Regions from separate parts of the Homo sapiens genome. Here all the other regions are linked to region 3. Evidence: promoter capture Hi-C in 16 types of primary human blood cells and fetal thymus (Javierre and others, 2016). All regions are on one chromosome and are shown on one strand. The core of a region is centred on a gene start or on the middle of the fragment in contact, and the rest is flanking DNA. Distances in the headings are between cores, read along the strand shown.

Region 1 (3,863 bases), core at 569-3,068, 5.0 Mb before region 3:
AAAAAAAAAAAAATTTATTGGATGTCTGCCTAAACATTTAATGTATATGAATTAAACACAAATACTTAAAATTCAAAATAGAGCATTTTAGTAATTTTAAAATTATGTAAATCAAAATTAAACATGACTTTAAAAGTCAGTCATGTGCATTTGCATTTAAACTACTTTACAAATAATGTATTTTATTTAGACATCAAATAAATTTTAATCTTGTCAATTCTTGTATTCCTCAAAATACATTTCCTCAAATAGATCTTATTGGATACAAACTCAAGACACTGCTGCACAAATATGTCAGGGTTTTGGTTTAAGAAAATTCATTATAAAATTGGCAAAATAACTCAGTTTCTCTACCCATAAAGTTATTAGCCTTGATGAAACTGACATGAGTAGTCAGTGTTATCTAGTACTGTTGTTTACTACTCTCTCATGACTAAAGATGTCCAAATCATTTGATACTCCTGGAAAGAACCAAATTTGGTGGTTTTGGGGACCTTTGTAATGAGAGGAATTTTTAAATGTGATAAAGGACAGAAGCAATAAAAGACAAAACAAAAAATAAAAATAAGAAATAAAAAAACCCCAACTCAATTCTCTTTTAAAAGTTCACTTATCTCTCAGTACTTCACTTTTTCAGACATTCCACCCATTTTTACACATCCTTTACACTTTCCTCAGTATGGGTCAAATTCAGGCTAGTGACTTAAGAGGCCAAAAGCGTTTTAATTTTATTATGATAAATCTTAAAGCACCAAAATGAGAATTAAAAGTATCTTAAGCAAGTAGTAATTGATAGAAGCTTTCAATTACCCATCTAGTTTGTATAAACATTGAAAGTTTTATTTTGTAGTTCCTAGAATATGTAACTATATGATATGACATAATAGCTTACTGTAGTTCCATTGCTCAAGCTTCACTAAGAAACTGGGATGATTCAACAAGGTAATTCTAATTTCAGTCTTTCGGACCTATTTATTAACTTTCAACAAAAAGGTGAAAGATTTAAAAATTTTAAAAATTTACCTAAGTAAAGTTGATCTTTAGAAATAATGTTTTCCAAGCTGCTTTTGAAGACAGTTAAGTAGGCAGCTCTACAATTCATATAAAATATTTCCTCTTCAGTTAGTGGAAATTTCTTTGTTCGAGGACTCTCTGAAGGTGTTGATTTCTGACTGGAGAAAGTTGCATCGCTTCGTGGACTGATCGCCATTCTATTGGAAAATAATTTAAAAATGTGTTTGTCAATGTGAGTCACTAAAACACAAATGTCACCATGTCTTTCAAATACAGGGAGGAGAATCAAGATTTTATACATAGAAGAAAATTTATAACATATATGAAAAGATCAAGATATTAAAAGTTTTATATGTGGAAGTAAAAGACGAATACTATAGTTGTATATGGACGTATTATATATTAAACAAGAATAAGCCTTTGGCAGTTAATTTCTAATTTTAGATATATACATATGTATATATATAATTGTTCAAATATGTGATAATAGCCAAAAGAACAAAGATATACACAAGAGAAGAATCACTGAACAAAGGAAGAGCACACATCTATTCTCTCAAAATACGAAAGTCAGATGACAGTCTTCATCAGGTTTTTAAGAGGAGCAAATCAGTTAATACATGTGAAGCATATACAATATTGCTTGACACGTAGTAAGTGCTAAATAAACTGCAGATAATGAGAAACTCCAGAATAATGAGAATCGGGATATGAGTGGTAGTTGACACCCATCTTCCACAGCAGGATCAACAAGATCATTTCATTAACATCTCAATAATGCAGCCCCACATTTCAAATAGCTATATTTTAAAAGTCTTATTTATAGCATTATCATAGTTTTACTGTGTTCCTTTATTAATAACAATATTTGGGGTTTGTATAGCACCTCTGTACATAAGAGCTTAAAGAACTGTCATACATCTTGTCTTATCCCTATTACAGCGGTCAGGTATTTTTTTGTCCGTTTTACAGATGAGGAAATTGAGGGGTAGCAATGTCACCCAGCTAGCAGTAAGTGGCAAAAAGCCGTAAATTTCACGAACAGTTTCTTCTTTGTTAATGTGGATATAGTACTGAACAATGGTTACTATGGGGTATTAGATTCTACTGGTGGTCTAACAGCTTCCAATATTACTCTACCCAGCTTTGACTTCTAAAAATAGATCTCCAACCTAATAAATTGAATATTTCAAGTTCAATAATAAGATAACACAGGTAGGGTCCCCTTCAGGACTCATTGCATTCCTACTCAGGAGGCCTAAATCACTTGCACCTTTTCGAATTATATAGATCATTTACACTTGGGAAAGAAAGATAATAATTGCTTATCATGGATGAAGTACCCTATTTATAATACGCAGGCCGCCTGCCTGACACTTTCATATTACACCAGATTTAGAAGGACCCCACAGGGATGTGGTGTCACAGTCTGGTTACTGCAAATTGGTAATACTATAATTAAGCATCAGAGTTCTAAACACATATGTGTGCATGCATCTCCTCACAAATGTGAAAGAAAACTGTTTCAAGAAGTAAGGGAGAATGAATTTCACTTTGCAATAAGCAATTTTAAAATATAAGTATATTTTAGGATCGTCCTCAAATATTCTTTCCAAACAAGGCAACTCCCTCACATGGAAATCCCAAGGCAGAAATGTGCCAGAATTTTATTCTTTTCCTTTCTGTGACGAGAAACCAAACTAAAGCTTAAATAAACATATAATTGCACCCCCCGCAGGCTTGGAAACCTCCCTTACTTAAAACTCCGGCCCGAGACTGAGACAGGGGCCTAGAGAGTACATTGCAGCAAACGGCTCCATAAATAACCAGCCACACAATAGCAAGAAAAATAAACTGTTAACAAGCGCCTAAGGCTTCTACAGGGCCAAGTGAAAACAGAAAGCCGTCCAGTCACCGTCCCTACACAGTGAAATACCGTCACAGGTAATCTCGGGCACCATCTCTCTATTTTTGTATTCCTCTGGAAATAAAACCGCATTTACATGTACATTTTAGGTACATACATGGACCAAATGTTTATGACAGAGAAGTAGACAAAGCAGAGGAAGGAGAAGCAGCTGCACAGAGAGGGACAGAGGGAGCGAAGAGACAGAGACAGCGAGCTGTTTGCTACCTAATTCTAGCTCACAAACAAGGAAGCGCAGCCAATTCTCTTCGGCGATTCAGCGTTCCTCTCACCGCAGCTGGACAGATCTCGGCCTTTCTCTAATCACCATGGCAACTGCACCTCACCGCCACCGGAAATAAGATGCAGAGCCCTTCTCCAAACGATCCGGCTAGAAATCTAGGAAGCGCTGATCCGGAGCGCACAGAGACAGCTGTGTTGCTCCTCTATCGCGGGGGTGGTATGGCCAGAGTAGTGAGAGAAGGTGCTCTGTTACACCAGCAGGAAATAGGTGCTGTCCTGGGCCTAGAACTCCCCGCTCGCTCCTTTGCTCGCGCACACCCGGATCCTTCGTCGCGGGGAGGATGTTTCCGCCCGGCCGCGGTGGGCTTGACGCAACGTCCAGCGCGCGCTTTTCATGCCTTGGCGTTTCCTTTGGCGGATTTTCTGTTTTCGGAAGTTGCTGGGTTCGTTTTATTCAGCGGCAGTGGTGCTTTCCCGAATCTCAGAATGCCGTAGGTATCTCCTCCCCAGGTATTGCTGTTTTGGGGGCCCTCTGCAAGAAGAGAAGATATTATGTGGCCCAGTAGCCTTTCTCGTTTTCCTATTTTTTCGGAGTATGAACTTGTCTCCTCTGTCCACAGGCAATTCCCTTCGCTTGGTACCCTCAACTCTACGTCTCCTCCAGCGGTACTCATACGATAGTCCTCCTTCGCTTTCTGTT
Region 2 (3,950 bases), core at 1,451-3,950, 3.2 Mb before region 3:
ACAGGAAGTGCTTACCTGCAGGGTTTTTGTCTAAATTTTTGAGTCTAGGGTCTAGCTTCATGCTGAGTACATAGTAAATGCTCAATTAAAAACAATTTTTTTTTCCTTTTTGGAGGGAGAGGGAGGACGGAAAAAAAGGAAAGAAAGGAAAAACGAAGGAAGAAAAAAGAGAGAAGGAAGAAGTCCATTTAGAATAGGAAGTTTATAACTGAACTACTAAATTTTTCACTTAAATCATTTAAACCTGATTTAAAGCATAAATATTATGTATAAATGTCTTAAATTAAAAATAGCGGCGGGGCGCGGTGGCTCACGCCTGTATTCCAGCACTTTGGGAAGCCAAGGCGGGCGGATCACGAGGTCAGGAGTTCGAGACTAGCCTGACCAACATGGTGAAATCCTGTCTCTACTAAAAAATACAAAAATTAGCTGCGCGTGGTGGCGTGCGCCTGTAATCCCAGCTACTCAGGAGGCTGAGGCAGGAGAATTGCTTGACCCCGGGAGGCAGAGGTTGCAGTGAGCCAAGATCGTGCCACTGCACTCCAGCCTGGATGACAGAGCGAGACTCCATCTCAAAAAATAGCAGCGGGGCGTGGTGGTTCATGCCTGTAATCCCAGACCTTTGGGAGGCTCAGACGGGTGGATCACCTGAGGTCGGAAGTTGGAGACTAGCCTGATCAACATGGAGAAACCCCGTCTCTACTAAAAATACAAAATTAGCCAGGCGTGGTGACTCATGGCTGTAATTCCAGCTACTCAGGAGGCTGAGGTAGGAGAATAGCTTGAACCTGGGAAGTGGAGTTTGCAGTAAGCGAGAATCGTGCCATTGCACTCCAGCCTGGGCAACAAGAGCAAAACTCCCGTCTCAACTCCATTTCTGTCTCTAAATGAATGAATGAATAAAGCATAGTAATGCTACAAAGTTGTTTTATTATGAAAATTTTAGGGCCAGGCGCCGTGGCTCGCGCCTGTAATCCCAGCACTTTGGGAGGCAGAGGCGGGTGGATCACCTTAAGTCATGAGTTCGAGACCAGCCTGCTCAACATGGTGAAACCTCGTCTCTACTAAAAATACAAAAATTAGCTGGGCTGGTAGTGGGCGCCGTAATCCCAGCCTTTCCGGATGCTGAGACAGGAGAATAGCTTGAACCTGGGAGGCGGAGGTTGCAGTGAGCCGAGATCATGCCATTGCAGTCCAGCCTGGGCAACAACAGTGAAACTCCACCTCAAAAAAAGAAAATTTAAAAACGTAGTTTATGTTTAAATATTACTTCAAATAGTTGTATGTCTTCCAGAATATATATTCCAAAATGAGGCCAGGCACAGTGTGGCCTCACACCTGAAATCCCAGCACTTTAGGAGGCAGAGGCGGGCAGATCACTTAGGCCAGGAGTTCGAGACCAGCCTGGCCAAAATGGTGAAACCCTGTCTTTACTAAAAATACAAAAATTAGCTGAGCGTGGTGGCGCACGCGTGCAGTCCCAGCTACTCAGGAGGTTGAGGCAGGCGAATCACTTGAACCAGAAGGCAGAGGTTGCAGTGAGCTGAGATTCTGCCACTGTACTCCAGCCTGGGTGGCAGAGAGAGATTCCATCTTAAAAAAAAAAATTTACTTCTCGTAAAACATTATACCAGTGTTCTCAAAGTGGGGGTCCCTGGACTAGCAACACCCACATCCCTTGGGATCTCCTAGAAATGGAAATTATCCAGTCCCTCCCTACATCTTTTGTATCAGAAACTCTGAGTGCCGGTTCTATCATTCTGTTTTAATAACTACTACAGGTGATTCAGATGCTATTCAAAGTTTGAGAACCACCAAAGTTAGTGCTAAAGTATGGATGAAGAAGCACCACTCAAGTTCAAATTTTTATATTGTTAGACAAAAAAAAGATTAAACTTAACTTTACGAAAACATTTTTTCCTCACTGTTAAAGTTCCCCACCACAGAACTTTTAGAACATATAGAAATTTAAAAACAACAGATGGAGGAAAAAAAATCTTCAACTTTTCACTTAATCATAAACTATTTGGTTTCCTCTTGTTACAGTTTCCACCCCCCAAATTATCCCCCACCTAAATTGTCACTTTTTTTTTTTAAAAGGCGTAATGTCTCTCACAGTTTTTAAGTTCTGTTCGTGGCAGCCTTCCAAAATCCTTCTCTAAAGTTACAGGAGGACATTATGTCAATTAGTAAGAGCATAGATCTGAAATCTGGCAAACATCAATTTCATTCCGACTGAGTCACTTAGTGATTAAGGTCAGTGTGTTTCAGCGTCTTTGAGCCTTGTTCCTTATCTGTAAACCCAAAACCTATCAGGGCTAACTGCGATGATGTCAGGAAAGCATTGATTCCAACCTCTGACGCCGCTGGCACTTTCAGAGGACCGAGAAGCCTCAGCTAAGGGCGCGGGAATGAGAAGCGGGTGAAGCACCTGATTGCCTAAACCACTCGTTTCCTTCCTCCAGCACTCAAAGATTAACCTTAGCTCCTTCCAAGGGTTCGTGGGGGAAAATTCGCCTCGAGGGACTGGGTACATGCATATTTTAAAAGGGTCTCCCAATGTGATTCCACGGGCTCACGGGCAGAAGAACACGCGAAGAGACGGAACTGGCCTCTATCCTATGCGAGGTCCCTTTAAGAACCTCGCCCTGTTGCCCTTCTCCCTCCCGCTCCTGGGCGGAGGCGGAAGCGGAAGTGGCGAGAAAGTGTCGGTCTCCAAGATGGCGGCCGCCTGGCCGTCTGGTCCGTCTGCTCCGGAGGCCGTGACGGCCAGACTCGTTGGTGTCCTGTGGTTCGTCTCAGTCACTACAGGACCCTGGGGGGCTGTTGCCACCTCCGCCGGGGGCGAGGAGTCGCTTAAGTGCGAGGACCTCAAAGTGGGACAATATCCTCTGTGGAGAACACCCCCCCATGGAGGCGAGGTAGAGTTGGGGTCGCAGGTGGGTCGCTGCCGTCAGGACTGGCTAGGGCTGTACTGAGTGAAAACGATAATCTGATCTGTGGCTTCTAATGACTGAAGGATCCCTGAAGGTGAACAGAGTTGTGGAGATGGGAGGGCCAGAGGCCACCCTTTGTGATTTCCTTATGATTTTACTAGTCATTGGCGCTTCCTCTTCTGATCCACTTTTTTTTTCTTTTTTATCAGTGTGCTTACTTGTTCAGTAAAACATGTAGATCCTGAAGTATGCCAGGCCCCGTTCTAGACACTAGTAATACAAAGATGGATAGTCTCTTACCCTGGAAATGTTTGCCAACTCTTCCTAGGGGGAAGACAAGTAATAACGATCTAGCCAATGTGTTGCCCATTTATCATTAACTTTATGTATATTATGCATATTACCTCATGTCATCTTCAAACTTCATGAGATGGTAGACTGCCAGACAAATTTCTTTCTGTTTTCTTTTTTTGAGACAGGGTCTTACTCTGTCGCCCTGGCTGGAGTACAGTGGCACGATCTCAGCTCACTGCAGCCTCCGCCTCCCGGGTTCAGTCAATTCTCCTGCCTCAGCCTCCTGAGTAGCTGGGACTACAGGCATGCGCCACCACACCCGGGTAATTTTTGTATTTTTAGTAGAGACGGGGTTTACGCCATGTTGGCCAGGCTGGTCTTGAACTCCTGGTCTCAAGCGATCCGCATCCCCCTCACCATGAACCACCGCGTGGGGACTCAGTGGATAAATTTCTGTTGCACTTTGCAACCTTGGGTGACCTATTTGAACTCTGTTTTCTCATGAGTAAAAACGTGGATAATTATGGGGCAAATTTAAAGGTTTATTGTAATGTTTATGTATTATTATATTATTTGTAGAGACAGACTTCTCGTTATGTTGCCCAGGCTGTTCTTCCCAAACTCCTGGGCTCCAGTGATCCTCCTGCCTCAAGTATTACTTAGCAATACTAAAAGTATATTTGTACATATGCTTATTGACTTGGACAAACTAGCAGCCTC
Region 3 (3,453 bases), core at 106-2,605:
ATGGGAAGCCTCTGAAGCTGTCCTTCTTTCCAAGTGAAGATAATAAATCAAAACCGATATTTCATCTGAGGGGATAGTGAGATGATGGTGGAGATTAATGTCATAATTAAAGACCTGAAATATACAAGAGTGGTTGGTCATCCCTGCCATATCTCTACTTAACTTGCCAGTCTGGCCCCTTTGGAAATCAGGTGGACCCAGGATAATGACATAATGGCTCTGCGCAGTCCAAAAGGAGCTGGATCAACTGGAAATTCCAGAGAACATCACACCCATCTATTTCACCAATGACATTATGCTAACCAGGCAAGATGAGCAAGAGGTGGCTAGCATGCTGGAAACTTTGGTAAGACATGTGCACTCCAGAGTTTGGGAGATAAACCCTACGAAGACTGAAGGACCTCCTACTTCAGTTTTTAGGGGTCCAGTTGTCAGGGGTTTTCCAGGATATCCCTTTCAAAGTAAAAGGCAAATCATAAAATACACATAAGATAAACGAAACAGTAACTTACACATTTTCCAAAAGAGATACCTAAAATTGTTCATAGTGTTTATGTCCTTTGACATAGTGTTTATGTCCTTTGAGATGTTTTCATTGTGCACAGAGTGTAAACATAATAAACTAATATGAGACCTCACTACTCATCCATCACAATCCAGTGTTTATTTGTACTGGCTTATTTGTACACTTTTATTTATTTGTGTTTATTTGTACACTTTTTTTTAATCGCCTGTCTTTCCTCACTGTGATATAAAGTTCACGAAATTCAGGTCTGTCTTGTTCACTGCTACATCCTTGGCACTTAAAATGTAGTTGATGCTCAAGAAATATGTTTTGGTGAAATGAATGAAACATACTATACACATAATTTTGGAGCCAGCTACTTTAACCTCCAGACACTTAAGATTATACTTCATCTTTCTTAAAATGCGTCCCTCCAAAAATCATATGAAAGCACTGTTCCCATACTCCAAAGACTATTTCTATGAATGCAGATTCAGAACCAGGAAGCCTTCGTCTTTTGGCAGTCTTCGAGTCTCTTCCCTTTTGGCCGGTACTGCCGTAGAGACTACAACGGACACAGCCTTGCGTGGATCATTCTTTAGAGGACCCAACTCACCAAAGACGGGAGAAAGTTGTTCCTAGGCAAGCAGCCCAGCCCAGGGCCATGTCCCGCCTTAAGCCACACGGAGGCGCTAGAGCGCCACAGTCTCCGCGGGGCCCGGGGCAGCTGGGAGAACGACTCTGGGCGGCTGTATTGACTGCCGGGTGTGGGCGGAGCGAAGGGCGCCCCGGCCGGTATGGCGGGCAGGAAGTGCGGGTGCGCGCCTGCGCATAGGTCGGGTCTGCGGTGTCACCGCTTTCGCTTCTGCTTGAGTCAGTCCTCACGGTGACGCTTTTCCCCAGCTTTTCCGAGTAGGATCGTGCCCAGGGGAGGAGGCAGAGTGCGGCAGTGGGGAGGGGGCGGAGCGCAGAGCGCCTGCGGGGGCGCCCGGGCAAGGAGTGGGGATCCTTGGGGATGGGGGTACGGGAGGAGGCGTGGGTGGGCGATAAGGCTGCGTGGAGGGGAGGGGCGGGGGGCGCCGGGGCGGGAGACGGAGGGGATCTGTCCTGGGGGAGCCCGGTTCTCCCCTAGCCTTGCCCGGGGCACGCCGGTGACCCCGTGTGTCTGCCCCGTGGCAGTACTTTCGTGGGCCGCCTGCCCTCCCCCTCAGCCCGCCCTTATCCGCGGCTCCGCTTTCAGAGCAGGGTTTCTCACCCGCGGGGCTTCGGGCTCCTCACCCGGCACCTCTGCCAGAGGGGACCGCCTCCCGGCGCGTCGGGCATTCGTCTCTTTCACCCCTTCCCTCTTCAGGAGAAACTGAACACGTTTTCCAGCCTAAACTCGGCAGGGCAAACCAGAACATTCCCCGTCTAAGCAGTTCCGGGGAGTTTTAACAATTTCCTCGTAAACTCGTCTACAGAACTCACTGTATACTGTTTAAATGTCGCCTGTGTGTGGAGCAACAGTTTTATTGTGCCGTGCAATCCTCAACAAGAAATTGTAGTCCAGGGAGATGAAAATCCCTTATTTGGCATTCAGGCGTTGATCAAGGTCGTGCAACCCTCGCTAAAAGGATTTAGGTTCATCTCCGTCATTCTCAGCCGGGGTGAAGGGGTGTAGTCTGACATTTGGAAGCTTAAGAACCAAGTCTGCTGCCGTCCAATTCTTTTTTAAAGCCTTCCATCATGTGTGTACTTTGCTTGAATGATTATTTTAAAGTACATGTCCTATTTTTGCCAATCTGACAGCTGTTTCCATAGAAACTAGAGAAGAAATAGTCATTTTCAGCAAGAGTTGTTAAAACTGTCTTCCAGGCTTCAGCTGTGAGTGCCAGTGAGTGCTGCACTTGCTCATTCGGAGATGGTACTTAAAGAATTAAGGATCTGAAATGTTCGTAGAGGCTAACAATCCAAATTGTTTAATTTTCTCACATCATTAATTTTGTTATCCTAGAAGTCTGCCAGCTATGTTTGTTGACCTGCCACAGCTCTTTGAAGAGAATATGTCAGCCCTGATTTTTTTTTTTCTTATGTGCTCTGTAGTCTAGTGATTGGCTCCTTGAAAATGCATGAATAGATTTCTTCCCTCATTCTTTACCCTTTCTTCAGGATAAACCGGGTATTACAAAATATCAGGCACTGTTTCTATTCAAAACGACACTTGGTTGTCAGTGATAGAAATGATAATGGTTTTAATTATATATGCGTAGTGTTGGGGCTTTTGCTTATACCTTCTGTGTCAATAGGATTCTTTTAAAATTTTTACACAAGTCATGAGAAATGAGAAGGAGTTTGCTTGTCATGTGCAGAGCTAAGCAGTGTGAATAGATGTGCATAGACATAGAGATGAGAGCTTTCTTTTTCTGTGGGGTGTAAGTAAATCAGGGAGTTTGGAATTTAGGAATGGGTGAAGGAGGGTTGGGGAAGGTGCCTGGAGAAGTAGTAGGAGGGCCTGGTTCGCCATATGAAGGAGTTTGTGGAAGCCATGGAAAACCAACGAAAGTCCAGGCGTGGTGGCTCATGACTGTAATCCCAACACTTCGCAGTGCAGTATGATCAGTTGAGCCCAGGAGTTAAAAACCAGCCTGGGCAACATAGTGACACACCGTGTCTACAGAAAAAAATTAAAAAATTAGCTGGGCTGGCCAGGTGCGGTGGCTCAGGCCTATAATCCCAACACTTTGGGAGACCGAGGTGAGCAGATCACTTGAGGCCAGGAGTTCGAGACTAGCCTGGGCAATTTGCCGAAACCCCGTCTCTACTAAAAATACAAAAATTAGCCAGATGTGGTAATGCATGCTTGTAATCCCAGCTACTGAGGAGACTGAGGCACGAGAATTGCTTGAACCCAAGAGGCGAGGTTGCAGTGAGCCGAGGTGGCACCACTGCACTCCAGCCTGGACAACGAC

The links. Contacts are between HindIII fragments. The CHiCAGO score rates a contact against its expected background, and 5 or more counts as called.
Region 1: a contact is called between a fragment that was not itself captured here and the fragment with the promoter of OMA1 in region 3, in 1 of 17 cell types (total B cells). The highest score is 6.5, in total B cells.
Region 2: the fragment with the promoter of TM2D1 here is called in contact with the fragment with the promoter of OMA1 in region 3 in 1 of 17 cell types (total B cells); the score reaches 5.1 in total B cells.

Annotation. Positions count from the first base shown.
Region 1 is chr1:63,522,920-63,526,782 of GRCh38, reverse strand. It overlaps EFCAB7 (EF-hand calcium binding domain 7), which reads right to left and starts at 3,258. Exons shown (of 14, transcript NM_032437.4): 1 at 3,149-3,258; 2 at 1,024-1,211. The coding sequence starts at 1,210. It overlaps ITGB3BP (integrin subunit beta 3 binding protein), which reads left to right and starts at 3,558. Exons shown (of 9, transcript NM_014288.5): 1 at 3,558-3,654. The coding sequence starts at 3,650. RefSeq lists enhancers at 3,295-3,374, 3,536-3,863. The HindIII fragment of the contact is 1,809 bases long and covers 914-2,722 here.
Region 2 is chr1:61,723,891-61,727,840 of GRCh38, reverse strand. It overlaps TM2D1 (TM2 domain containing 1), which reads left to right and starts at 2,700. Exons shown (of 7, transcript NM_032027.3): 1 at 2,700-2,884. The coding sequence starts at 2,721. RefSeq lists enhancers at 2,025-2,710, 2,359-3,018, 2,055-3,254, 2,711-3,398. The HindIII fragment of the contact is 25,050 bases long and covers 1-3,950 here.
Region 3 is chr1:58,544,628-58,548,080 of GRCh38, reverse strand. OMA1 (OMA1 zinc metallopeptidase) reads left to right here and starts at 1,355. Exons shown (of 9, transcript NM_145243.5): 1 at 1,355-1,378. It also overlaps a transcript of DAB1 not described here. RefSeq lists enhancers at 917-1,106, 1,320-1,946 and silencers at 1,507-1,606, 1,617-1,706. The HindIII fragment of the contact is 5,811 bases long and covers 1-2,182 here.